Regions from separate parts of the Homo sapiens genome. Here all the other regions are linked to region 6. The links are contacts of gene promoters, found by promoter capture Hi-C in human tissues and cell types (Jung and others, 2019). All regions are on one chromosome and are shown on one strand. The core of a region is centred on a gene start or on the middle of the fragment in contact, and the rest is flanking DNA. Distances in the headings are between cores, read along the strand shown. Region 1 overlaps KIF1B (kinesin family member 1B). Region 2 holds the start of PGD (phosphogluconate dehydrogenase). Region 3 overlaps KIF1B (kinesin family member 1B). Region 4 overlaps KIF1B (kinesin family member 1B). Region 5 overlaps KIF1B (kinesin family member 1B). Region 6 holds the start of CTNNBIP1 (catenin beta interacting protein 1). Region 7 overlaps KIF1B (kinesin family member 1B).

Evidence for each region. Contacts are between HindIII fragments. The study calls those that stand out against the background at their distance.
Region 1: a fragment that was not itself captured here is called in contact with the fragment with the promoter of CTNNBIP1 in region 6 in 2 of the 25 tissues and cell types used here (heart right ventricle and hippocampus).
Region 2: a contact is called between the fragment with the promoter of PGD here and the fragment with the promoter of CTNNBIP1 in region 6, in 4 of the 25 tissues and cell types used here (IMR-90 fibroblasts, aorta, dorsolateral prefrontal cortex and 1 more).
Region 3: a fragment that was not itself captured here is called in contact with the fragment with the promoter of CTNNBIP1 in region 6 in 3 of the 25 tissues and cell types used here (IMR-90 fibroblasts, dorsolateral prefrontal cortex and liver).
Region 4: a fragment that was not itself captured here is called in contact with the fragment with the promoter of CTNNBIP1 in region 6 in 4 of the 25 tissues and cell types used here (IMR-90 fibroblasts, dorsolateral prefrontal cortex, hippocampus and 1 more).
Region 5: a contact is called between a fragment that was not itself captured here and the fragment with the promoter of CTNNBIP1 in region 6, in 1 of the 25 tissues and cell types used here (dorsolateral prefrontal cortex).
Region 7: a fragment that was not itself captured here is called in contact with the fragment with the promoter of CTNNBIP1 in region 6 in 2 of the 25 tissues and cell types used here (dorsolateral prefrontal cortex and hippocampus).

What each region holds. Positions count from the first base shown.
Region 1 is chr1:10,226,984-10,231,053 of GRCh38, forward strand. All of the region lies in intron 1 of KIF1B (kinesin family member 1B), which reads left to right. Among named protein-coding and RNA genes, the nearest start is that of KIF1B, 18 kb to the left of the region's middle. The HindIII fragment of the contact is 4,198 bases long and covers 1-4,063 here.
Region 2 is chr1:10,397,331-10,401,200 of GRCh38, forward strand. PGD (phosphogluconate dehydrogenase) reads left to right here and starts at 1,734. Exons shown (of 13, transcript NM_002631.4): 1 at 1,734-1,795; 2 at 2,299-2,374; 3 at 3,063-3,242. The coding sequence starts at 1,788. RefSeq lists an enhancer at 1,122-1,431 and silencers at 1,912-2,231, 2,324-2,500. The HindIII fragment of the contact is 25,181 bases long and covers 1-3,870 here.
Region 3 is chr1:10,252,502-10,256,276 of GRCh38, forward strand. KIF1B (kinesin family member 1B) reads left to right here. Exons shown (of 49, transcript NM_001365951.3): 3 at 3,746-3,775. Among named protein-coding and RNA genes, the nearest start is that of KIF1B, 44 kb to the left of the region's middle. The HindIII fragment of the contact is 6,215 bases long and covers 1-3,775 here.
Region 4 is chr1:10,328,650-10,332,428 of GRCh38, forward strand. The region is part of intron 27 of KIF1B (kinesin family member 1B); the gene reads left to right. Among named protein-coding and RNA genes, the nearest start is that of PGD, 69 kb to the right of the region's middle. The HindIII fragment of the contact is 6,880 bases long and covers 1-3,779 here.
Region 5 is chr1:10,270,115-10,274,147 of GRCh38, forward strand. It overlaps KIF1B (kinesin family member 1B), which reads left to right. Exons shown (of 49, transcript NM_001365951.3): 8 at 1,388-1,465; 9 at 2,127-2,192; 10 at 2,900-2,917. Among named protein-coding and RNA genes, the nearest start is that of KIF1B, 62 kb to the left of the region's middle. The HindIII fragment of the contact is 4,387 bases long and covers 430-4,033 here.
Region 6 is chr1:9,908,760-9,912,585 of GRCh38, forward strand. It overlaps CTNNBIP1 (catenin beta interacting protein 1), which reads right to left and starts at 1,510. Exons shown (of 6, transcript NM_020248.3): 1 at 1,336-1,510. RefSeq lists silencers at 1,058-1,117, 1,288-1,347, 1,358-1,957 and enhancers at 2,105-2,778, 2,779-3,451. The HindIII fragment of the contact is 11,728 bases long and covers 1-3,826 here.
Region 7 is chr1:10,294,264-10,297,873 of GRCh38, forward strand. KIF1B (kinesin family member 1B) reads left to right here. Exons shown (of 49, transcript NM_001365951.3): 18 at 823-902; 19 at 1,397-1,503; 20 at 2,319-2,402; 21 at 2,634-2,814; 22 at 2,911-2,983. Among named protein-coding and RNA genes, the nearest start is that of KIF1B, 85 kb to the left of the region's middle. The HindIII fragment of the contact is 6,454 bases long and covers 1-3,610 here.

The DNA.
Region 1 (4,070 bases), core at 715-3,214, 320 kb after region 6:
CAAACAAAAAAATACATTGTATTTGGTTGATAAATAACGCAAGTCTCTCTTTTTTTTTTTTTTTTTTTTTTGAGATGAAGTCTCGCTCTCTTACCAGGCTGGAGTGCAGTGGTGCGATCTCAGCTCACTGCAACCTCTGCCTCCCGGGTTCAAACAATTCTTCTGCCTCAGCCTCCCAAGTAGCTGGGATTACAGGTGCACGTCACCATGCCCAGCTAATTTTTGTGCTTTAGTAGAGATGGGGTTTCACCATGTTGACCAGGATGGTCTTGATTTCTTGACCTCGTGATCTACCCATCTCAGCCTCCCAAAGTGCCAGGATGACAGGCGTGAGCCACCGTGCCTGGCCCACAAGCCCAGGGTTATAAAACCCTGTCTCCCCAATTATGCTATTTGTTTGAAGAAACTTGGTTGATTTATTCTGTAGATTGTTTCATATACTGAATTTGCCTGTTTATATCTTTGATGTGTCATCTAAGTTGCTTCTTTCCTCCCTATATGTCTTCTAAACTGGTAGTCAGATCTAAAGCTTGATTTTATTCAGGGTTTGGTTTTTTAAACAGTTTTCATTTTAAGGGGAGTGGGGCAAGAATACTTAATAAGCTGTGTATTTCCTTTGTTCGAGACCAGCCTGGCCAACATGTTGAAACCCCATCTCTACTAAAACCACAAAAATTAACCTGGTGGTGTGTTGGGCACCTGTAATCCCAGCTACTCGGTAGGCTGAGGTAGGAGAATCGCTTGAACCCATGAGGTTGAGGCTGCAGTGAGCCAAGATCGTGCCACTGCACTTCAGCCTGGGTGACAAGAGCGAAACTTCATCTCAAAAAAAAAAGAGTTGGGAAAAGGTAACATTCTATAATTCTTTCATTTCTTCTGCATTTATTAGCTAGAATTTTTCTGTAAAGAACTTACCCTCAGCCGGGTGCTGTGGCTCACACCTGTAATCCTAGCACTTTGGGAGACTGAGGTGGGCGGATCATATGAGGTCAGGAGTTTGAGACCAGCCTGGCCTACATGGTGAAACCCTGTCTCTACTAATAATACAAAAATTACCCGGGCGTGCTGGTGGGCTTCTGTAATCCCAGCTACTCGGGAGGCTGAGGCAGGAGAATTGCTTGAATCCCGAAAAAGGAGGTTGCAGTGAGCCAAGATCATGCCACTGCACTCCAGCCTGACCTGGGTGACAGAGTGAGACTCCATCTCAAAAAAAAAGAAAAGAGAAAAAAAAGAACTTACTTTCATTGACTATTTGGTTATCCTGGAATATTTTATACAGGCTATACAGACTAGATGTATGCTTAATTCTGTTTTATTTGCTGTTTTCAGGATAATGCATTTTCTTCCCTCTGTAACCATTGATCTATTAATGAAGTTTTTAAAAAAAAAAGTATCGTAAGCTTATGAATTTATATATTTGACTTTTAAAAATCAATTTGCAGTATTTTTTACATGTTAGGAACAAGAGAACGTTCTTGCTATTGGAAGTGACGTTGAAAGTCATGCTTTAGAGGGGTTGATCTTGCAACAGGGTTAAGCAGTGGTTTAAAGCAGTGCTTTTTAGCTGGGTATTTGTAACATAATCTTTGAAAATTAACCCAAATCAACAAATCCATATCTGGGGCCTATCTAGACTGGGAGAGTCTAGACTCCTTTGTTTTTCAAAAGGCCCCCGTGTCATTCTGTTTCATACAACTCTGTTTAAGGACTATTGGATCAAAGACTAAAAGCCCAAAGAACAGTCCAGCTATTGCAAGTATCCTAGGTATGTGGTAGTAAGGACATGGATTGAGGTAATATCAGTGGGAATGAGAGGAAGGGAGGGATAGAATAAAGCAACTTTATATCTTAGAAGTTTCCATATGGTATTTTGTGAATAATGTTGGTAATAATACAAGGTTTCAAAGAGTAGTGACAAAGATGACTCCAACATTTATGGTATCGGGGCCTGGGAGAATACTGTTGATAGGGAAGATTGGCAGAGATTGCTAGTTTAGGGGAGAAGATAATGGTTTTTTGGACATGAGGAGAGTTAAGATGATGGCTGTATTTCAGAGGGAACTCGGGGAGGTTGCAATGTGTTTTATGTCTTGCTTTTTCTGAATGTGTCATTCATTCTCTTGGCATAGTACTCAACTAGTGAATATAAGTCATGCTCCATTGATTGGGAAGGTTAATAAATGCTAAGTTTTCATTTGATACATGTGATCATAAAAATATTTGATATTTAAATAAAGAACCATCAGTTTAAAATAAAATGGCAAACAGACTAGAAAAAACATTGTAGCAAATAGAAAAAGATTAATATAAAAATATGTAAACATTTAAAAAACAAAAAAATCAGTAAACTAGGCAAAGGACTTAAACAGATAATTCTCACAACTGGGAAATGTATGTCATTCATTTCATCAACATTTACTGAGCTCTTATGTCAGGTACTGTTGTAAGTGCTAGCAAACGAGACAGGAGATCTCTGAGCATTCTGGTGGTAGAGTGAGAGACAGACAGTGTGAGAGATGGACAATAGACATGCTCCAGAAAACAAGAATTTCAAATAGCGATGATGCTATTAAGAAAATTAGGGGCCAGACAGCCGGGTGCGGTGGCTCATGCCTGTAATCCCAGCACTTTGGGAGGCTGAGGCGGGTGGATCACGAGGTCAGGAGATCGAGACCATCCTGGCTAACATGGTGAAACCCCATCTCTACTAAAAAAAAAATACAAAAAATTAGCCAGGCGTGGTGGCAGGCGCCTGTAGCCCCAGCTACTCAGGAGGCTGAGGCAGGAGAATGGCGTGAACCTGGGAGGCGGAGTTTGCAGTGAGCCGAGATCGCGCCACTGCACTCCATCCAGCCTCCTGGGTGATGGAGTGAGACTCCGTCTCAAAAAAAAAAAAAAAAAAAAAAAAAAAAGAAAAGAAAATTAGGGGCCAGACGTGGTGGCTCACACCTATAATCCCAGCACTTTGGGAGGCTGAGTCAGGAGTTTGAGAACAGACTGGGCAACATAACAAGACTTTGTCTCTACAAATAAAATAAAATATTAGTTGGGTGTGTTGGTGTGTGCCTGTAGTCGCAGCTGTTTTGGAGGCTGAGGTGGGAGGATCACTTGAGCCCAGGAGTTCAAGGTTACAGTGAGCTATGATTGTGCCACTGTACAGTAGCCTGGACGGGTAGGGCATTGAGGTAGAGAGTGACTTTGGTTTTTATGTTATTTATTTATCCTGTTCTCGGGAACACATCGGTTATGGTGTTGTGTAGTTGGAGGTTAGCATTCCTAATTATCTGGAAAAAATATTGGTCAGATTTAAGTTCTGTTGTGGTTCCTGATAATTGGATTCGTAATTACTTTTCTTTTTTAGATTTTTCCTTTGTTTGGTTATTCTTGAAAAAGATTTTATATTGGATAGAGTGTAGAGTTTTTCCTAACTAGAAAAATTGGTTGTTTTTTTTTTCTTTCTTTTTTTTTTTGAGACGGAGTCTCACTCTGTGACCCAGGCTGGAGTGCAGTGGTGCGATCTCAGCTCACTGCAACCTCCACCTCCTGGGTTCAAGTGATTCTCCTGCCTCAGCCTCCTGAATAGCTGGGATTACAGGTGTGTGCCACCACACCTGGTTAATTTTTGTATTTTTAATAGAGACGGGGTTTCACCGTGTTGGCTAGGCTGGTCTTGATCTCCTGACCTCAAGTGATCCACCCATCTCGGCCTCCCAAAGTGCTGGGATTACAGGCGTGAGCCACCGCACGCGGCCGGTTGTTTCTTACAGAAGTTACTTACTTGGATTCTTTTCACACAGTAGTGTTGGCTTTGTTCTGTTGGGAGGGAAACTATTCCTCTAAAAAATGTTCACATTTTTCCTATTACTTCATTCAGTAGTGAAATGTAATGATTTGACTCTGCCATGAGTCAGTGGCATATCTGAGGGATCTTTGAAGTTAAAGGAAATTGGCCAGGCGCAGTGACTCACGCTTATAATCCCAGCACTTTGGGAGACCGAGGCAGGTGAATCTGAGGTGAGGAGTTCGAGACCAGCCTGGTTGACATGGTGAAACCCCGTCTCTACTAAAAA
Region 2 (3,870 bases), core at 484-2,983, 490 kb after region 6:
TACACAACAGTATAAATTAAAGGTCATCCAAATGTGTACTTACAATGTTTGAATTGTATGACATGTAAATTATCTCATTAAATCTGTATTTTAAAAAAAGAACTGTGCTGTGAAGTTTGACATATTTTAAAGTAGGATGTCTTAGCCGGGCATGGTGTTGCATGCCTGTAGTCCTAGCTACTCAGGAAGTTGAGGCTAGAAGATTGCTCGACCTCAGGAGTTCAAGGCTGCAGTAAGCTATGGTCATGCCACTGCACTCCAGCCTGGGCAACAGAGCAAAGACCTGGTCTTTATAAAAATTAAAAACCGGCCGGGCACAGTGGCTCACACCTCTAATCCCAGAACTTTGGGAGGCTGAGGTGGGTGGATCACTTGAGGTTAGGAGTTCGAGACCAGCCTGGCCAACATGGTGAAACCCTGTCTCTACTAAAAATAAAAACATTAGCTGGGCATGGTGGCACACACCTGTAGTCCCAGCTACTTGGGAGGCTGAGGCAGGAGAATCGCTTGAACCTGGGAGGTGGAGGTTGCAGTGAGCCCAGATCGCGCCACTGCCCTCCAGCCTGGAGACACAGCCAGACTCCATCTCAACAATGACATCAAAAAAAGGCCGGGCACGGTGGCTCACGCCGGTAATCTCAGCACTTTGGGAGGCCAAGGCGGGCGGATCACGAGGTCAGGAGTTTGAGACCAGCCTGGCCAAGATGGTGAAACCCCATCTCTACTAAAAATACAAAAATTAGCTGGGCGTGGTGGCGGGCGCCTGTAATCCCAGCTACTTGGGAGGCTGAGGCAGGAAAATTGCTTGAACCCGGGAGGCGGAAGGTGCAGTGAGCTGAGATCACACCACTGCATTCCAGCCCGGGCGACAGTGCGAGACTCCGTCTCAAAAAAAACAAAAAAAATCTAAAACTCAAACTTCTGAATAACAATTTCCTCCTAGCAAGAAGGGACTCAGTAAGATAAGAAGCGCTGCTTGGCTACTTTGCAAATGTCTGGCTTAAGATGGCTGGTTTTTTGTATCTGCCTCTGCATTTAACCTGGTCCATCTCGCGGGTCACATAGCCTCTACAAAATGAGAAGGGGTTCAATACCGTTAACTCCGGGCCTGGGTAAAAGACTCAAGTCCTGACCCCATCATACTCCAACCAATACATACCCCGCCTGCGCTGTCTGCGCCTGGGTCTCTTCAACCGCAGTGAGCGGTCGCACGGCTCCACATCAGGGTCGCCCTGAGGCTCAGCCTTCCCCGGCCCCATTCCGAGTGCGCACAGGACTGAACGAGCACGCCCGGTCCCTGCTCCGGAGCGGAGGACACGACGCGGACCCGCACGGTGCACCGCAGTGACCTGAGGAAGGAGCGACGGGCGCTCGCGCCAAAGGCGTCCGAGTGCCTGGTAAACTGTAAAGCGCGGTCCTGCGTGAGTTGCTATGGCTACAGCTGCGCCAGGCGGACGGCCTGCAGGACCGAGGTGCAGCTGGGACGAGCGGAAAGCTCTGCGCGTGGGCGGGGAGCCCGGAGCCTCGCCGGGGCAATGTCATCTAGGTGCTCGGCGCTCCACTGATCCGGCCCCCGGGGGTGGGCGGGCACGTTTGCCTCGGATGGTCTAACAGGCGTCGGGGAGAGCCAATGGTGTGGCTTCATGGCTCCACCCCCTTCCATTCGATTGGCCGGCGCCGAAAAGCCGGGCGTGAGCGGCCGCAGTTTCTGGAGGGAGCCGCTGCGGGTCTTTCCCTCACTCGTCCTCCGCGCGTCGCCGCTCTTCGGTTCTGCTCTGTCCGCCGCCATGGCCCAGTGAGTGACTCGCCAGGGGCAGCCCGGCTCGGCCTCAGCGGGCGGGGAACTCTTTGGGGGTCGAGATCTCCCTCGTTCTCTCCGACGCCTCCCACCCTGGGGGTCGCCTGAGCTCACTTGGGGCTCTGTGACCCTGGCCCTACGGCGTCTCGGGCCCAGAGCTCCTTCCCTGCGGGCCCGGCCCCCTGCCCTCTCGGCCGCGCAGGCATGGGGCGGGGCGGGTCCCTTCGAGGGCCAGGGAGGAGGCGCGGCCAGGCCTCGCCGAGTCTGCAGGGACACCTGCGGGACGCGTGCCAGCGGGAGCCGGGCGCGAGGGCGGGGCTGGGGGCCGCCTGCCCGGCCGAGGCTCTGCAGCGTGCGCGCCCGGCTTCTGGGGGCCCGCGGGAGGCGCGGAGGAAAGTGCAGACTCCCAGTCACGGCCAAATGTGGAAGGACCGGACCCCTGGGTTGCAGCGCGTCGAGCGGTGCTGACTCTTTCCTTTGTTCTGTTTCTGCCTCTCTAGAGCTGACATCGCGCTGATCGGATTGGCCGTCATGGGCCAGAACTTAATTCTGAACATGAATGACCACGGCTTTGTGGTAAGCGGCGTGGGCGCGTTGTCTTCTCTCTGGTTCCCGGGCGCTTTAGCCGAGGCCGGCGATAGGTTTGGGAGCTTACGGGTCTCCTGGCCGTGCTTTGCTAATGTGCTCTGTTGCTGCTCGTGGCATTTTTGTATGGAAAGGAGAAGCACCCTGTAGGCGTGGGCGGGCCGATCCCGAACTTAGTCCTGCGGAGTGTGCCTGTGGGTCCGTGAGGTTCACAGCCCGAATGAACGAATTAGTGTCTTAAGTAGAGAAGAAGGGTGCGGGAGGAGAACCCTTGCTGGCTGTGTAGAGCTCTAACTTGATTGCCTGATGAGATCTGGGGAGAGTGAAAATGTTTCTTCTAAATGTTAAAGTGGCTTAGACGCCAGGATGATCAATAACAACAGATAGAGCCTGTTGAACCGGCCAGTTCCTGGATTTGATTTTGAGTCCTAACACGTTGGGTGTGGATTCTACCTGACACACCGGGGGTAGTTGGCCTTCGCCTCGGTTGTCCGCCGTTTTCATCCTACTGAGGTGACATAACTTTACAGTGAGCCTCCCACAGCTGGGGGAAGAAAAGGCAAAGGCAGGTCTGACCTCCCCAGAACTTGGGTTGAATGGAAAGGTCATTGTTACTTTGGCCACAGTCTGAAAGTCTTGTGTGTCCTGGATCTCCTACTCAGGACTTTTGTCCTTCTAGGTCTGTGCTTTTAATAGGACTGTCTCCAAAGTTGATGATTTCTTGGCCAATGAGGCAAAGGGAACCAAAGTGGTGGGTGCCCAGTCCCTGAAAGAGATGGTCTCCAAGCTGAAGAAGCCCCGGCGGATCATCCTCCTGGTGAAGGCTGGGCAAGCTGTGGATGATTTCATCGAGAAATTGGTGAGGCCAGCTGTGCTCTCAGCTGCTACCACGATAGCAGCTGTTTTTGGTTTCTTCCTTTAGTTCTCCTTCTTTTAACTCTAGAGATTTTTTTTTTTCAATTTCTGCTAAGCTCTGACCAAATGATTGCTTAACTGTTGCAGTGTTGGTTAACTTGATAAGCGCTTATGAAGTAACTTTGTCCTTTGGTGGTAGTAATTCTGAGAATACTAACAGACATTTCAATAAACATTAAGGCGGGGCACAGTGGCTCAGGCCTGTAATCCCAGCACTTTTTGGGAGGCTGGTTCAGATGGATCGTTTGAGCCCAGGAGTTCGAGACCAGCCTGGGCAACATGGCGAAACCCTGTCTCTACATAAAATTAAAAAATTAGCTGGGTATGGTGGTGTAAGCTTATGGTCCCAGCTACAAGCTTATGGTCCCAGGTTCGAGACCAGCCTGGCCAACATGGTGAAACCCCGTCTCTACTAAAAATATAAAAATTAGCTGGGCTTTGTGGCTCATGCCTGTAATCCCAGTTACTCGGGAGGCTGAGGAATGAGAATCACTTGAACCTGGGAGGTGGAGGTTACAGTGACCTGAGATTGTGCCACTCCAGTTTGGCGACAGAGCGAGACTCCGTCTCAA
Region 3 (3,775 bases), core at 698-3,197, 340 kb after region 6:
CCTGGGCTCAGGTGATCTTCCTACCTAAGCCCCCTGAGTAGCTGGGAGTGCAGGCACACACCACCATGCCTAGCTAACTTTTGTATTTTTTGTGGAGATGAGATTTCACCATGTTGCCCAGGCTGGTCTCAAATTCCTGTACTCCAGCGATCCTCCTGCCTGAGCTTCCCAAAGTGCTGGGATTATAAGTGTGAGTCACCGAGCCAGGTCATAAAGACAGTTTTTTTTTGTTTTGAGATGGAGTTTTGCTCTTTTGTACCCAGGCTGGAGTACAGTGGTGTGATCTTGGCTCACTGCAACCTCCACCTCTCGGGTTCAAGCAATTCTCCTGTCTTACTTAGCCTCCCGAGTAGCTGGGATTACAGGCGTGCCCCACCACGCTGCACTGATTTTTTATATTTTTAACAGAGATGGGGTTTCACCATGTTGGACAGGCTGGTCTGCAACTCCTGACCTCAGGTGATCTGCCCACCTCAGCCTCCCAAAGTACTGGGATTACAGATGTGAGCCACTGTGCCTGGCCAATAAAGAGAATTTTAAACAATGCCTACAGTGTGATTTTAGTGGGGTGGCCACATACATGTAGGTGTGCACATGTATTTCCATGAAAATGCCTTCCTGCCTTTAGCCTTGACAATGCTGCATATAGGGAATAAGCATTTAAATGATGGTGTCTGGGCTAAGAGTGTGAACTCTGGAGCCAAACCCTCCAAAATTGCATCCTGAATCTGCCACTAGCTAGCTCTGGAGCCATGAATAACTTATTTAACCTCTCTGTGATGGTTTATCTATCTGTAAAATGGGGGTAATGAAACATCTGGCTCATTGAGTGCTTGGGAGCATCAAATAGGTTAGTAGGTCTGGTGTGGTGGCTCACACCTGTAATCCCAGCACTTTGGGAAGCTGAGGCATGAGGATGGCTTGAGCCCAGGAGTTTGAGACCAGCCTGGGCAACATAGTGAGACTCCCATCTCTACAAAAAAGAAAAATAATTAGCCGGGTGTAGTGGCATGAACCTGTGGTCCCATCTACTCCAGAGGCTGAGGTGGGAGGATCACTGGAGCCCAGGAGGTTGAGTCTGTAGTGAATTGTGGTTGTACCACTGTACTCCAGTCTGGGCCTCAGAGTTAGATCCTGTCTCAGGAAAAAAAAAGGTTCGTAGACAGAAAGTACTTATGGCTCAGAGTAAGTGTTCTGTGAATGTTGGCTGTTTTTTAAATCTTGCATTTAATTCCTCTTTGGTTAGAAGTATACTTCTTTGCTTGGATTACCATTTGCATGTGGAGAGATGTTCCTTCTAGAACCATGTCTCCTTGTCACATGATTATGTACAGTGTGAGCTTTATTAATACTCTGTCAGCATTTGAGGTTGGAACATAAATGCGTGGCTGTACCCAGTGGAATCCAGCAAGAGAGAGAACTAAGCACCGTAGCAACTGTTGCTATTTGTGTACTGAGCAACAGCTGTGCGAGACAGATTTATTTTTTAATCCTGATCTCACTGATAGCCTGGGATGTGGCCTTGCCACATCTCAAAGGAGTAGATTGGTTGAGATATCCAGTCTTTGAGGAGATTTCATGACCACATGCCATAAAGATTCTGTTTCATTTCAAATATGAGGAGCTAAAGCTTTGTGTGTATGAGTGAGGGAGAAAGATTAAGCTTTAAAGCATTCATAGTCAGTCCCTGAAATATAGTGTGACTGGATTAATGACATGATAAATCACTTTTAATGTGGGTGGTGAGACTTCATGCATTTCAGTCAAAAAAGTAATTTTGCTGTAATGTGGTTCATTTCCAAATTTTGGCTGCTAACTTACCTAGGATGGATAAACATTATCACAGAGTATTTACTGAGCATCTACTTTATACCAGGGTCTTTTCTGAATACTGGTAACATGCAGTTAATTACACTCCAAAATGACTTAGTCTGTGATTCCACTATATACTACATTACATAAATACACACACACTAATCATTTACATACTTGTCAACCTTAGATTTCAGAAATAACACTGTATTTGTAATGAATGCTTCATTACCAAATGCTTTTCTGAAGTACATAGTAAGATCTTTAAAAAGAGCTTTCATGGCCAGGCGCGGTGGCTCACGCTTGTAATCCCAGCACTTTGGGAGGCCGAGGCGGGTGGATCACAAGGTCAGGAGATCAAGACCATCCTGGCTAACACGGTGAAACCCCGTCTCTACTAAAAATACAAAAAAATTAGCTGGGCGTGGTGGCGGGCGCCTGTAGTCCTAGCTACTCAGGAGGCTGAGGCAGGAGAATGGCGTGAACCTGGGAGGTGGAGCTTGCAGTGAGCCGAGATCGTGCCACTCCCCTTCAGCTAGGGCGACAGAGGGAGACTCTGTCTCAAAAAAAAAAAAAAAAAAAAAAAAGCTGCTTTCAAATAGTGGTTGGATTCATTCAATAACTTTCTAATTTTCATTTCTCTTTTTTTTCTTGAGATGAAGTCTTACTCTGTCACCCAGGCTGGAGTGCAGTGCATTAATATCAGCTCAGTGCAACCTCTGCCTCCCGGGTTCAAGTGATTCTCCTGCCTCAACCTCCCCAGTAGCTGGGATTATAGGCACACACCACTATTTCTGGCTAATTTTTGTGTTTTTGGTAGAGATGGGGTTTCACCATGTTCGCCAGGCTAGTCTCGAATTCCTGACCTCAAGTGATACACCTGCCTTGGCCTCCCAAAGTGCTGGGATTACAAGTGGGAGCCACCGCGCCCAGCTCCATTTCTGATGTGTTCCAATATTTCAGGGCTTAACGGGTGCCTTGAAATAGTAATGTGGGCCAGGTGCAGTGGCTCACGCCTGTAATCCCAGCAGTTAGGGAGGCGGAGATGCGCAGATCACCTGAGGTCAGGAGTTCGAGACCAGCCTGGCCAACATGGTGAAACCCTGTCTCTACTAAAAATAAAAAAATTAGCCAGTTGTAGTGGTGGATGCCAGTAATCCCAGCTACTCAGGAGGCTGAGGCGGGAGAATTTCTTGAACCCGGGATGAGGTGGTTGCAGTGAGCCGAGATCACACCACTGCACTCCAGCTTGGGGAATAGAGCAAGACTCTGTCTTCAAAAAGAAAAGAAATAGAAATGTCGTTCATTTCCAAATTTTGGCTGGTAACTTACCTAAGGAGGATAAACATTGTCACAGAATATTTACTGAGCATCTACTTTATACCAGGGTCTGTTCTGAATACTGGTAACACGCAGTTAATGCTGTTGGTCTGGTTTTTCATGTTCCATGTATAAATTACCTCTTAAAACTATGATTGTTTTCATTCATTCATTCATTTTTGAGATCGGGTCTCAAAATAGGCTGGGGTGCAGTGGCTCGATAACAGCTAACTACATCCTCAAACCTCCAGGCTCAAGCCATCCTCCGACCTCAGCTTCCTAAGTAGCTGGGACTGCAGGCATGTGCCACCATGCCCAGCTAGTTGTTGTTGTTTTTTTTTTTTTTGGTATTTGTTGTAGAGACAGGGTTTCACCATGTTGCCCAGGGTGGTCTTGAACTCCTGACCTCTAGTGATCCACCCAGCTCGGACTCTCAAAATGCTGAAATTACAGGCATGAGCCACTGAGCCCAGCCTATTAATTTTTGATTGCCCTATTCAGATTTAGTGGTATGAATTTACTGATTGGGATGTTTTGAACACACAGAATAACATGTTTAACTAAAGAACTTGTAATTGAGTGACTTATAAAATGAAACATTTTTATCTTCTAGGTATTATTAACCCAAAGAATCCAAAGGAAG
Region 4 (3,779 bases), core at 1,150-3,649, 420 kb after region 6:
CCCAGTGCTAATTACACAGTTTCTAAAACTGTTCGCTTGTGTTCTATACCATTGCAGTGAAGAGTAGGCAGCTTCATCTTACGTAACATGGTGAGGAGAAGCCTGACCTAATTGTCAGGAGAAGCCTTGGGTCCTAGGCCATCTCTGTCACTATGACAAGCAACTTAAAGTGAAGCCTTTGGGCTCTCAAGTGTAAAGTGAATAACAGGTAGAAATAAAGAGCCATAAAGATCTTTTTCAACTTTCATATTCTGTCATCTACACTAGCAAAAATGAATATCCTGGTTAAGACTTCTACTAAGAAGCATTTGTATTTTGAGGAAGTTGTGTGGAAACTCAAGACAATCCCACTTAATGTGGAAATTAACTGAGGATACATGTATTGTTTTCTCTCTAGTTTTATAGTTTTCTTTCTTTTAATCATGTCAGATGTAAGTATAGGTATAAAGCAATCAACTCTATTTTGATTTTCACATAAAATACTTATGGAGCTGTGGCTCAGGAATTGATTTTTCCATTTGTTTAGGTTCCCAAGTTCTAACCTTGCAAGAAAGGACTGGGGGAGGAAGTGAAATAATATAATAGCAATCAGTAAAGTGAAGGATAGCTTTCCATTTTTGCCCTTGACTACATTTCTCTTCTACAAACAAAATTTACAATAATGCAACATCACCCAGTTGTGTAGTGGTCATTGTATGTGTAAGGAAAGTAACTACTTTCCTGTTTTTGTGATTCACAAGATTGGATTTCTCCTATTGGCATATAATTGCCAATATAAATCACTTGTAAAATTTTTAGTTTCTGGCTGGGTGCGGTGGCTCACTCCCGTAATCCCAGCACTTTGGGAGGCCGAGGTGGGCAGATCATGAGGTCAAGAGTTCGAAACCAGCCTGGCCAACATGGTGAAACCTCGTCTCTACTAAGAATACAAATATTAGCCAGGCATGGTGGTTTGTGCCTGTAATCCCAGCTACTCAGGAGGCTGAGGCAGGAGAATTGCTTGAACCCGGGAGGGGGAGGTTGCAGTGAGCCGAGATCGCGCCACTGCACTTCAGCCTGGGCAACAGAGCAAAGACTCTGTCTAGGGGGAAAAAAAAATTAGTTTCTTGTGAAATTCCATTAGTAAGTTTGTTTTTTAGCCATGACTGCCTCTGCTAAAACTTTATATTGCAAGTGAAAAAGAGCTTGTCCCTTTAGCTATTCTCTTATGGCATGCTGGGATGTTATGAACCATCCATCATAATTTGGGATGAAATGTAAAATATTTAAGCTAGTCTTCTGGGTTAAAAGGGGGTTAAAGATGATGATTCTGTGATCTCTCTAAGTACCTTAACTGACATTCTTTCTATAAGTAGCACCATAATTTTGCTAATTTTTCTTATCTTTATGTTGACCAGTTTGTTCCACTTTTTGAAGTAACTTCATTGAACTTTCTGCTAACGTATCCTTTCCATATTCCCCTCTCTCATCCCTGTTCTCCTTCAGTCTGCTAGGTCAAAGTATAAGGATTCTCAAAAATGCAGAGTAATTATGAAAATTCTGTTTAAAAAGCTTCAGAATAGAATGTTTATATAGCATTGATTTGGAGCTAAGGGCTATATTCTGGTAACATAACAAGGTGCTATCTAGTGAATGTGTGATTGTGTAGTCATGGAGCTGATGTCCCTGCCATAGAATTACAGAATTATCTAAAAAGGGAAATCTATAATAATGGCCTTCAATGCTCCCACACTTGGACTAGCCATTGCCATAGGCAGAAAGGCAATCTCATCTTTACTGTGTGTGCAAACAGTACTTTAATGTAATGTGTGCTTAATATAAGCTTTCTTTAAAAAAAAAAAAGGTGGCTCCTGTTTTTGAATAGCTATTTTTAAGATAGATATAGTTAGGAATCTAAATGTGTTCTATATAGTTAATATCCATTATGAGGTGGCTCTGAAAAATCAACCTAGTATAAGTTGGATGGCTTTGCTTTTCTGCTTCTGTTATAACCCATTTTTCTAGAAAAGCTTCCACTTCTACTTAAAGATAAGAGGCAAATCATTTTCCTGTTCCCTTATGCACATAGATGTTCACTTACCAAATATTTATAGAGTGGCCCAGCCCTCTGCAGACAGTGGTGAGCAAAACCAGACATGGTTCCTGCCCTCATAGACTTATAGTCTGATGGATGACACAGACATAAATTAAATAATTGCACAAATAAATGTAAATTATAGCAGTGATGAAATAGTTGTGTGTGTTGTCGGAGATCACATAACGTTGGGGGACCTGTTATGAGAAAGTGGTGTTTGAAATAAGACCTGAAGATGTGAAATCAAAGGCGTGAGGCTGGGTGTGGTAGCTCACGCCTGTAATCCCAGCACTTTGGGAGGCTGAGGTGGGTGAATCACCTGAGATCAGGAGTTTGAGACCAGCCTGGCCAACATGGTGAAACCCCACCTCAAAAAAAAAAAAAAAGACATCAAAGGCATGAGGTGTAGGCATCGAGTGCAGAGAGGACTCCAGGCAGGGGACATGTGCGATGGCTCTTTAATGGCCCAGGCCTTGAAATGGGCAAGTCTAGCTGGGGTGCCCATAATAGAGGAGGGTGATCTGTGTATGTGTTGACTTTGAAAGTGAAATTATCCATTTGATACCTTACGCCAAATTCTTTGTCTTTTAAATTCTGTTGCAGTAGTTGTTGTTTGAGGGTCTTGTTTAGAACTTTTTAGAACTTTTCATTCTTACGTTTTTTTACACCAGAGCTTCAACTCTCTGTTTCTTAGCATTTCTCTCTCTCCTGCTTTGGAGCAGACTGAAAGGGAAGTGGCATTATTTCATCTGATTTAATGTTCATTTGCAGTTATTTTTGTTATATGTTTCATTTGTATTTCATTTATGCTCTAGTTATGTTAACATTTGTTTTTCTGTGATGTATTATGTCTGTTTTCATAATTTTCATTACTTTGAGTTGAAATCCCAAATACCCAGTCTATCCTCCTCCTCTCTTTGTTTTAAAATAGATTTCAGAGCAGGAAAAGCATCAGATAAACATGTATGTCACTTGGTTTTGTTTGATTTATTGATACAAGTGTCTGTCTTTGTCTTTTGTCTTATGTTCGAAGATCAGCATATACCAAATGGGAAGACTGGAATCATAGTAGGAACTAGATTCTATTTCCCTTTCACTAATTGGAATGAACACTCTAGCTTTGTGACCACCAGTTTTTATTGCTTTTTTAAAAAAGTAGTAGCTACACAATAAAGAAGAAAATACAAATGTGATAGGACTTTGCTAGTTTGCTTGAAATATAAAGTGTTAGAGCTATAATTTAGCTTTCACTTATGCATTTCTGAATTAGGTTTTGAACTCTAGGAGCAAACGCAAACCTTTTAGGCATCAACTGTCATCTTCTCCCTTAACATTTATCTTTTTTCTTTTTTTCTCTTGAGACGAAGTCTTGCTCTTGTCCCCCAGGCTGGAGTGCAATGGTGCGATCTCGGCTCACTGCAACCTTCACCTCCTGGGTTCAAGCGATTCTCCTGCCTCGGCGCCCCCGAGTAGCTGGGATTATAGGTGCCTGCCACCGTGCCTGGCTAAATTTTGTATTTTTAGTAGAGATGGGGTTTCACCATGTTGGCCAGGCTGGTCTCGAACTCCTGACCTCAGGTGACCCGCCTGCCTCGGCCTCCCAAAATGCTGGGATTACAGACGTGAGCCACCATGCCCGGCCCTTAACATTTATCTTGATGCCCATTCAGAGTCTCCTCTAATCTTAGAACTCAAAAATTTCTTG
Region 5 (4,033 bases), core at 1,373-3,872, 360 kb after region 6:
TAAAGCGTAAAATTTGGTCAGTTTTGACGTATTTGTATACCTGTGAAACTAGCGCCACAATCCAGATAATGATAATTTTTATTCTCAAAAGTTGCCTCATATCTCTTTGTAGTCTTTCTCTATCCCTTCTTCTGTGGCAATTCCCGGGCAATTCCGGACCTGCCCTTTTGTCACTATATATTAATTTACATTTTCTAGAATTTTATATAAATGGAATCATAGAGTATGTACTGTTTTTTGTCTGGAGTCTTTCACTTAGCATAGTGATTTTGAGATTCATCTATGTTGTTGTGTTTATCAATAGTTCCTTTTCATTGTTGATGAGTATTGCGTTATACAGATACACCACAGTTTATTAATTCAACTGTTGATGGACTTTTAAACTGTTGCCAGTTTTTGATTATTACAAACGAAGCTGATGTGAACATTTGTGTACAAGTCTTTGTGTGGACATTTGTTTTTGTTCTGTTGGTAAATACTTAGGAGTAGGATGATTGAGTCTTATTGTAGCTCCTTAAGAAATGTCAAGGCTGGGCACGGTGGCTCACGCCTGTACTCCCAGCACCATGGGAGGCTGAGGCGGGTGGATCACAAGGTCAGGAGTTTGAGACCAGCCTGGTCAACATGGTGAAACCCCGTCTCTACTAAAAATACAAAAAAAATTAGCTGGGCGTGGTGGTGGGCGCCTGTAAGCTCAGCTACTCGGGAGGCTGAGGTGGGAGAATCGTTTGAACCCAGGAGGTGGAGGTTGCAGTGAGCCAAGATTGCACCATTGCATTCCAGCCTGGGTGACAGAGCGAGACTCTGTCTCAAAAAAAAAAAAAAAAGGAAAGAAAATAAATGTCAAATTGTTTTCCAAAGTGATTGTACCATTTTACATTCCCACCAGAAATATGTGATTGTTCCAGTTGCTTAAAGCTTCACTTTTAGTAAGCCATTTAATGAGTTGATGAGTTTTATATATTTTTATAACATACTCTAGTAAATTATGTCATGTTTATCCTAAAGTTACTTTTTTTTGAACCGTGATAATTGCTATGAATTTTGTGCATGCTCTTTTTTTTTTTAATTAAAAAAAATTTTTTTTTAGAGACACAAGGGTGTTATATGTTGCCAGGCTGGAGTGCAGCAGACAGCTTTGAACTCCTGGGCTCAAAGGAGCTTCCTGAGTAGCTGGGACTACAGGCATGTGCCATTGCACCTGCCGTGTGTACTGTTTAAACTAACTGATAGATGTTGTCTTGATCTTTTTGTGCCATATTTAAAAGCTCTAATACTTTTAGTTTTTTCCATACCTTAATCTTTTAAAAAGCATTCTGCCTCTAAATATTTCCTGCTTCTATCTTGCTTATTTTTGAATTGCCCCCATGTTATTGTTCTTTATCAGGTCAGTAAAATCAGCTTGGTGGATCTAGCAGGAAGTGAACGAGCTGATTCAACTGGTGCCAAAGGGACTCGATTAAAGGTATTTATTTTAGCAAATAAATGGCCTGATCAATAAATGGCCACTACCTGTTTTTGTAAATAAAATTTTATTGAAACACAGCTACATACATTTGTTTATGTATTGTCTATGGCTGCTTTTGCACTACAATGGCAGTGTTGTGACAGAGACCGTATGGCCCAGAAAACCTAAAATAATTTGTGTCTGTCCTTCTACGGAAAAATTTTGCTGACTCCTGATCTGTAACTTCAATGGAAGGATAAGTTATCTAACTAAATAGTTAGGGAGCACATCATAGTCAGGGTGAGAGTTGAATTGCATTTTAAGGAACAGGTAGAATTTGGCTAGATGGAATTAAGAGATGGCAGTGGGAATAGGATATACAAGATTCAGATGTGAGAACAGAAATTTCATGTCGATAAGTTGAGGGAAGAAGGCTGCACACATCTGTAAGCTTTTGGAGCACAAATATCTCGAAGATACTTCAGGACTGTGAGTTAGGCATGTGGTCTCAGCATGTTATTATCAAGTGGAAAAGAGGACAGATGGAGGACTAAAGGTTGTTTTTAGAACTTGTAATAAAGAAATATGCTAGCATATGGCAAATCATATTTTATGTTCTGTATGATATAGCAGTAGTAGAAATTCTTCATCATTCTTTCATATTTGGTATTTATTTTAGGAAGGAGCAAATATTAATAAGTCTCTTACAACTTTGGGCAAAGTCATTTCAGCCTTGGCCGAGGTGGTAAGTTTTATACTTCATTATAAGGGGAGTTGTGTCTGTTCAGCAAATATACTTGATGATATTTTATTATTGTTTATGAAGGCTGTCTTTTTGTGGCCCTTTTCTGTAATCTTGCCTTTCTCCTTTTAGAGCTTTTCAGATAAGATACTAGGTATAACACAGTTTGACTTTGTACTGAAAGTAAAAGATACTAAGGAGAACAAAAGTAAATATAGATCTGTAAAAACTAGAGCAAACACTGAAGGTTTGACTCATTTTTTTGAGCCTTATTTTATGTTTCTCACAAAAACCAAGTATATTTATTGTCTCTTCTTTTCCTGTATAATCTTTTCTGAGTAAGATGCAGTATCTTTTGGAGTATTTTGAGCAGTTTGGCTTTGGTGAATGCTGTTGATTTGAGGGCCAGTAGTTTTTTTTTTTTTTTTCCCCCAATAGTTTTGTTCTTTCCTACTCCTTTATGGTAGAACAGTAAAACTAAAACTATTTTTTTTAAATTAGGGGCTTTGTTGTCTACATTATTTAAATTAGTCATTGTGTGTTCTAGTTTAGTTTAAAACCTCTTTTTAATTGCTAAGAAGAATGAAATGCTTTCTTGCTTGCCTTGGAGAAATCATAATCTATGACATGAAATTTAAACAAAATCTAATTTTCTACTTGGAGGCTTATCCTGTGTTCTTATTTTCTCCTTTAAATGCTTTCACCTGTAGGATAACTGCACTAGCAAGGTACAGTGGGGATTGGTAGAGATAAACTAGAATTGACTTTTATGTTTTAAATCCTCACTAGGATGTATGGAGGCATAAGTAGGAATGGAACCTTCAAAAATCTTTTCATCATTTGTTCTCTGGCTCTGGAATTTAGAGTGGCTGTAAATTTAGGGTGACCACAAATCATGAGGTTTCACACCAAAATTAATTTCTAGAACATGATATGCTTTGGAGAAGGAATTAAGAATAAAGGAACAAGGCCGAGCATGGTGGCTCATGCCTGTAATCCCAGCACTTTGGGAGGCCAAGGCGGGCGGATCATTTGAGGTCAGAAGTTTGAGACCAGTCTGGCCAACATGGTGAAACTCTGTCTCTACTAAAAATACAAAAATTAGCTGGGTGTGGTAGCGCGTGCCCATAGTGTCCCAACTATTCACGGGTTTTAAACTGAAGTTTTAGGCCTCAAGGATTACATAGTGGAGTGAAAGTTTGTTCCACTAATCTGAATGACTGAAAGGCTTAATTCTCCCTTGAGGTCTGTGCAATCTAAAATTGAACCTGCTATTGGAAATGACTTTCTGATTGGTGGATTGTGTGTCTGTGGGTAGAGTGGAATGAGATGATGATGATGTGGACATATTTAATAAGAGATGGAATTAAAATGTTTCTTGCCTACTCCCTTTCCTCCTCCTCCTCAAAAAAAAAAAAAAAAAAAAAAAAAAAAAACCCAACAAACACCACAAGACTAGCCACTAAGAGGCCAGCCATGTAGTACCCTTTTTCTGAATAGAAAAAGTGCTTGTGCAATAGTAGGATCATCCTTAGTTTAACCTTGGATTATACCAGGACTGAATTATAAAACTGCTGATTTGCTGGAGTGGTGTTTAGCAGTGAGACCCTGGCTTTCTCCTTAGTAGCTTCTTTTTTTTTTTTTTTTTTTGGAGACCAGGTCTCTCACTGCTGCCCAGGCTGGGGTACAGTGGCACGATCTCGGCTCAGTGCAACCTCCACCTTCTGGGTTCAAGCGATTGTCCTGCCTCAGCCTCCCAAGTAGCTGAGATTACAGGTGCCCGCCACCACCCCCGGCTAATTTTTTGTATTTTTAGTAGAGATGGGGTTTCATCACGTTGGCCA
Region 6 (3,826 bases), core at 260-2,759:
GACTTTCCTCCTCTTTAAAATGTCATCTCTGAGGAGGGCAGAAACCGTGTCTGTCTTCACCACTAAAGCCCCAGTACTTGGAACGGTGCCTGGCACATAGTAAATGCTCACTACTGAATGAATGAATCTCCATCCCATAGAGGTGATTTGTATTTACAAGGGAGGACCACGAACTCCCCCAGCAAACCGTGAATGACACATTGGCATTTAACAGCCCGCACCTTTATTTATGATCCAAAGTCCTACTTTAAATCTGAGGAAGCTGCTGGTATCTCTGGACATTTTAATGGCACAAGAGATCAGTTATCACTTGGGGACACACTCCAGGAACTGGAGCCCAGTGGTTGTAGCAGGGAGCTAAGAGCCAAGGCTCCTGCGAACAGAACTTCAAGACAAACCATGACTTGCCTCCAGGTCCCTTACCCACACACCCTGTACCTCAATTTACCCAGCAGTTGGCCAGACATGTTCCTCTCAGTTCTGTGAGTGACAGGAGACAAAATAATTCACAGCTGGAGCATACTGAGATCCTCAGACAGGAGGTGGTGCAAGCCACACGTCTCATTATTCATAAAACTCTTGATTTGCGGCCAACACGGCCCCCGCCGCCTTCCCAGGGGCTAACCTGACAACAGGCACTGCTCAGACAAGTTCAGCTCACAAGGCAGAGGGAGGGATGGAGGGCCTAGCAGAGGCTGGGTGTCCAGACCTGAGTGTCTCGGTTACCAGGTTCCAAAAAAAGGAAGGTGGTTGGGGTGGGGTGATGAAAAGGAGGTGAGAGGTGCAGTTTGGGGCTCCAGGTGGTTAATTTTGCAGGTTCGTGCATACACGCCCGCCATCCAGGTGAGATATGTGCCCCCACCAGGTACCTTCCAGGAAGGCTCACCGGGGAGGGGTGGAATCGGGAGACGACAGTTCAATCAAACTACAGAGGGAGGAAGGGCGGCCCAGCGTTTAGTTTGGGGAAATATGGAGAGTAAGAGTCTCAGAGTGGGCGCAGGTGAGGGAAGAGGCAGGGGCCCAGAGGTCGGGAGGGCGGACGGGCGATGACAGGCACCCGGACGCGGTGAGGTGAGCAACAAGGTGGGCGGCGCGGACACCTGTGGAGGCGACCCCCGGGCGAAGAGTCAGGGAGGCGGGAGGTGGTCTGCGGCGAGAGGCGGCCAGGCCCAGACCAGGGCGCCGCGCCGCTGGGGCAGTCAGGGGTCCGAGCGGGGTCGGGGGCGCTCTCCGCGGCCCCTCCCCGGCAGACAAAGGGCTGGCCGCTCCCCCAAGCCCCGGCGCGGCGCGGCGCGGGCCCGGGCGGTGCAGGCGCGGCCCGGCCTCGGCGCTTACCTGGGCCGCCCGACCCGGCCGGGCCGGCAGGGGCAGCGGGTCCGGCGCGCAGCGCGCGGCGGCCTGTTCCGGGGCGTGCTCAGCCCGAGCAGCCGCTGCGGCGGCGGCAGTAGCAGCAGCAGGAGCGGCCGCCTCAGCCTCCGCCTCCCGCTCCGAGAGTCACCGCGGTGGGGAGGGAGGGAGGCGCCAGGCCGCCGGGGGAGGGACCGGCGGAGGGGGCGGCATCTGGCTCCGCGCGGGCTGCTGAGGCGCGGCGGCGGCAACGCCCCGGAGGGAGGCGGGCGCGTGGGGCCGGGCGCCGGGGCGGGGCCTGCGGGCGGGGCGGGGCCCGGGGCCGCGAATTGGTTAACTCAGCCTGTGGGCGGGGCTGCGCGGTGCGGGGCGGGGCCTTGTGGCGCATGTGAACGCTCATTGGGCCCTCCTGGAAGGGGGCGAGACCAGCGACATAGGGACGGGGCCATGCGGTGGGCGGGTGGAACACGGCGCCGGTAGTGAGTGGCCGAGTCCGCGCTGAGAGCAAAGGGGAGGAGCGGGCCGGGGGTGAGCAGGGAAGGCGGGTTGGGCGCGAGGAGGAGGCGGTGGCCTGGAGGAGGAGCCGGGTAAGGCTGAAGCTGGCGCTGCGGTAAAGCCACTCTGCGTGTCCCTATCTGCTCCAGGAGCACAGTGTTCCGGAAAAATAATGGCCTCTCCCACACACCGGTCTGTGTTTAAAAACGGGAGCAACAAGACGGGGCAGAATCCTTGGTGAGGCCAGTTTACCCAGAACCCCGGAAAATTCTGAAATGGACGAGGTTGCAGAACATTTAGAGGCGTGGTCTTCCTGCGTCGTTGAGCTGGGAACGTTGCTACCTCTGAGCTTGGGGCCTAACCTGGGATTAACCTAGCCCAGAGAGCCCAGGGATGGGCCTCCGTAGGTCCATTAAACTCAGAAGGTCGTGTGTACTGGTAGTGAGTGGATTTTTCGGGGGAAGGGTGCCCATGATTAAAATGTTTCTACAGAAAGTCTGGCTGTATTTGGAGAGGGTACAGGGAGAAGCAGCCCATTTTAGGTAAAATGCAAATTGCTTTTAACATCCGCCTTCCTTTTAAAGGGACCTGTATCTTTAAGTGTGGTCTCATTTTCAGCAGTTTAAATTATCAGTTACACAGTGTGACACTAACCCCAGTTCAGAAGCCCTCCTACCCTACTCCTCCCACAGCCTTTCTTTTTACACCTTTTCTGTACCATCCTCTTCCACTCCACATTTCTTCCCCTTCCCTATGCAAAAAGAATACGAAGTCCTTTTTTGTTTGTTCGTTTATAATATAATATCCACATTACTCTTTACTCATTTGGGGGGTTTTTTTGTTTTTGAGAGGGAGTCTCGCTCTGTCGCCCAGGCTCAGGTGCAGTGGCGCGATCTTGGCTCACCGCAACCTCCGCTTCCCGGGTTCAAGCGATTCTCCTGCCTCAGCCTCCTGAGTAGATGGGATTACCGGCATGCGCCCCGGCTAATTTTTGTATTTTTAGTAGAGACGGGTTTTCTCTATGTTGGCCAGGCTGGTCTCCAACTTCTGACCCCAAGTGGTCTGCCCGCCTCGGCCTCCCAAAATGCTAGGATTACAGGCCTGAGACACCGCACCCGGCCTGCTCACACTTTTTCATACTTAATAGGTCCCCGGCCGGGCGCAGTGGCTCATGCCTGTAATCTCAGCACTTTGGGAGGCCAAGGCAGACAGATCACCTGAGGTCGGGAGTTGGAGACCAGCCTGACCAACATGAAGAAACCCCGTCTCTACTAAAAATACAAAAATTAGCCGGGCGTGGTGGCGCATGCCTGTAATCCCAGCTACTCAGGAGACTGAGGCAGGAAAATCGCTTGAACCCGGGAGGCGAGGGTGCAGTGAGCCGAGATTGCGCCATTGCACTCCAGCCTGGGCAACAAGAGCGAAACTCTGTCTGAAAAAAAAAAAAAAAAAAAAATTGGTCCCCAAGTGGGTTTCTCCTACAGTGTCCCCACCTTCAGTAACTGGCACCACTCTCTACCCAGTTGCTTACACCAGACACTTAAATTGTACCGTTGACACCACTCTTTCCTTTATTCTTCATTTCCAGTCCATGTTGTTTCCAATTCTAAATGGTGTCCTTAATCTCTCCACCTCCTACCATCTCTACCCCTCTTTCCCAGTTTAACCTGCCACCAGCTATCACCTTGACTCCTGCAATAACCCTTCAAGCAGTCTCTCCTTTAGGCTCTCCTTACGCCCCCATTCACTGCCCACACAGCAACTAAAGGAAACTTCTTAAAATCTTGTCAGACCTGCGCTATTCAACGACTTCTCTTCATTTTCACGAGGAAGTTCAAAGTCCTTAGTGTGGCAACAAGGCCTTACAGGATCTGGCTACAGCCTGATCTTGAACCACTTTTGCCAACTGGGCTCTAGCCACATATGGGCCTTGTGCCTGTTCCTTGATCACAGGGAGCTCTTTTGTGCTTCAGGTCTTCTGATT
Region 7 (3,610 bases), core at 186-2,685, 390 kb after region 6:
GTTAGAAGATGTTTATCTTATCGAATATCAGTAATTTTACTTTTTTCTTTAAGGTAAAGACTAATAAATTAAAATCTTTTAAGGTAAAGACAAATTAATAACTGGGATCAGAAGAACTGATAAAAATTATAGTGGGAAGTGGTGGGGGGGTATGGGGACATTTTAATAAAAGTAAATATTTCTTGAGATTTTTACCCAGGCATTTACAAAAATTATAATTATTCCGTTCAGAGAATTGGCCTGTCATTTTTTCCTTGTGCTTTGACCTTATCAAAAATTAGGTCTTGTTTTTTTATCCCAGAACTCATGTTTTAAAATGGAATGCCAGGCACAGTGGCTCACTCCTATAGTCCCAACACTTTGGGAGGCCAAGGAGGGTGGGTCAGTTGAGGTCAGTAGTTCGAGACCAGCCTGGCCAACATGGTGAAACCCTGCCTCCACTAAAAATAGAAAAATTAGCCAGGCGTGGTGGCGAACACCTGTAATCCCAGCTACTTGAGAGGCTGAGGCAGGAGAATCACTTGAACCTGGAAGGCAGAGGTTGCAGTGAGTCAAAATCATGCCGCTGTACTCTAGACAGAGCGAGACTCTGTCTCAAATTAATTAATTAATTAAAATAAAATAGAATGCACTTGGTTCCGTTTGGTGAGGCCTGAAGAGAGTGTTTTCTCTTTATTATGGAACCGCAACTAGGGATAAAAAGAAATCCCTCTCTAGGCTCTGTGGAGAGTTGGAGAAGCCTGGCCTCTTGTAGGCCCCTGTTGTTACCACAGCTCTCTCATGGTGCCCTGCTCCAAATTGATCATCTGTAATCTTTTTCAGACCCCACATCTTGTTAACCTCAATGAAGACCCACTAATGTCTGAGTGCCTACTTTATTACATCAAAGATGGAATTACAAGGTATATTTATTTCCTGTTTTGGTCACTTCGTGTGTTTTCCCCCTCTTAGATAATTGAATAACTAAAGGGAAGGGGTTGAAAAAATTAACGTAATGATTTGCTGTATTTTTTGTCTGAAATAGTTACAAACTATGCTCTCTTTCCAAATAATGTGTTTTTGCCACTGGAGCCAGTTACTATGTAGTTTTTCTCTGAAGACCCTAAATAATTTTTTTTTCCTTTAACAAATATACATTCCTTAGGGATTTTATTTGACTCATGTCTTTATAATACTGTATGAGTTACATTGGTATATCAGTGCTCCTTGTTTCTTATTCTGATGTAGAGAGGTTGATCATATGTGAGGATAGAATTCATAGTTGAAAGCTTCTGATGCAACAAGGCAATACCTTTTTTGTACGTACCAAAGGATATTCTTTGGAATAAAGAGGTTCATTGTTTGTAGTGCTTTCTGTGTCTGAATTTCCCTGGGAAACACTTTCTCTTGTGTTCAGGGTTGGCCAAGCAGATGCTGAGCGGCGCCAGGACATAGTGCTGAGCGGGGCTCACATTAAAGAAGAGCATTGTATCTTCCGGAGTGAGAGAAGCAACAGCGGGGAAGGTGAGCATTCCTGGCTGGAGCTTCAGCAACAACATTTTCATTTTATATTATGAGAAATCCTTAAGACTTTGTATTCTCTGTCTATCAGTAGTACTTTCTTATACAATCTAATTCTGAAAAATGGAGAGACCTGGGCTGCTTATGAATGCAGAGATGGACAAGGCTGCTTTACATGAAAATAGCTTGGACAAAAGAAGCCCTTTTTTACTGCCAAGAACTGAGAAGGACATAGGCAATTAGGCTTGGTCTGGAATGTTAATTATTTAATAGAAAAGTAAGAAAATAGCAGATATCCTGGGTAATAGGAGATTTGAAGGACATTAAGTCAACCCAGCAGAATTTATTTTTATCTAAAAGGGAAGAAAAAGTCAGTCTTGATTTTTGCCTGGGTTATTAACAAAACAACAATTTAATGGTTTTTTTCTGTTATATAAGTCACTCATTCCCTTATCAAAATATTAGCTTCTCAGTCTTTAGTTTCTGGTTATTACCTATATCTCATCCTTACAATTTCTGATGGTTCTGAGTTTTATTGACTGAACCGTCAGAGATCCCTGAAACTAATATTTCCTATCATCTTCTTAGGTTTATCAAATAGAGTTAAATGTTCTTGTGTTAGCCATGGCCACAGATAGCCTCTTCTATTGGGGCTAGTTCTGGTACCCCAAAATGAACTACTGTATAGACAACTTCAGCCACTTGATTGATTGCAGGGATTTATTCTACTTACTGCAAATCCTGATAAGCAACTGCTTTCCATTATTTGATTCCAATAGTTTGTAATGATAACATTAGTTTGTGTTTGTTCCTCTTAGTTATCGTGACCTTAGAGCCCTGTGAGCGCTCAGAAACCTACGTAAATGGCAAGAGGGTGTCCCAGCCTGTTCAGCTGCGCTCAGGTGAGACTGGGAGAGGTTTGCCATCTTCAGCAATGTGCACATGGCTTCTGTGACAACTCTAATTTTTGGCTGTTTAAAGGCTGAAGTAATAGTCAGCATTAGGATTTTTGTTCTTGTAAAAACAACAGCTCTGAAAGCTGTCTTTTCACATTAGGGAGGGGTGAGGTTGTTAAATAGATACTATATATTAAAAAAATTATTTCTTAACCCTATTTTTCTGTTTTGTGCTAGGAAACCGTATCATCATGGGTAAAAACCATGTTTTCCGCTTTAACCACCCGGAACAAGCACGAGCTGAGCGAGAGAAGACTCCTTCTGCTGAGACCCCCTCTGAGCCTGTGGACTGGACATTTGCCCAGAGGGAGCTTCTGGAAAAACAAGGAATTGATATGAAACAAGAGATGGAGAAAAGGTAATGCACAGTTACGCAGCCCATATGACTGTTTCTTCTTTTAAACATGTAATACTAATAGCATTCTTGAATTTTTTTTTTTTTTTTTACTTCTAGGCTACAGGAAATGGAGATCTTATACAAAAAGGAGAAGGAAGAAGCAGATCTTCTTTTGGAGCAGCAGAGACTGGTAGGAGTCCTGAATCTGCTAAACTGTTGGGAAAAGGGCAGCTTGTTCCCATACTTTCCCTGTTCCACAGAGCAGTACTCACCCAAATTGCTTCTGTCTCAATGATACCAAGCACTATTCTTTAATTTCCTTAATGGAGAATGAACTTAAATCTCCCGGTAGCCTTAGCCTGAAAAAATAGTCCACAGAGGTACTCTTTTGGGCTTTTTATGTCTTAAAGCCAAATCTTAACTTCTGTTACAACCAAATACTTTTTAAGGAAATAGAGCTTTTCTGGTAGCCTTTGCCTCTTGATAGTGGTTTTGGAATTTGCTTCAGTGGTGGTTCTTTAAATGATAATTACTCTGAATATTGAATTTGGTGAGAGTTTGCCTTGGTTTTGTTTCTGATCACTTGATAGTACTAATTCTCTGCTCTTGGGCTGACTTTGGGATTGTTCTTACGCTGGGCAGACTTTTTTTTTTTAAGTTAAACTGTGTCTAAAAGTGTTGCTGCACAGTTGCATGTGTTACTCCTTTCCTTATCCCCTGCATGGAGTCTGAATTCTCAATCAGGTTCTCAGTGGCATGTGTGGTAGCGGTGGGAGCAAAGGCTGCATACCCAGCCCGGACAGGACAGAAGGCTTGC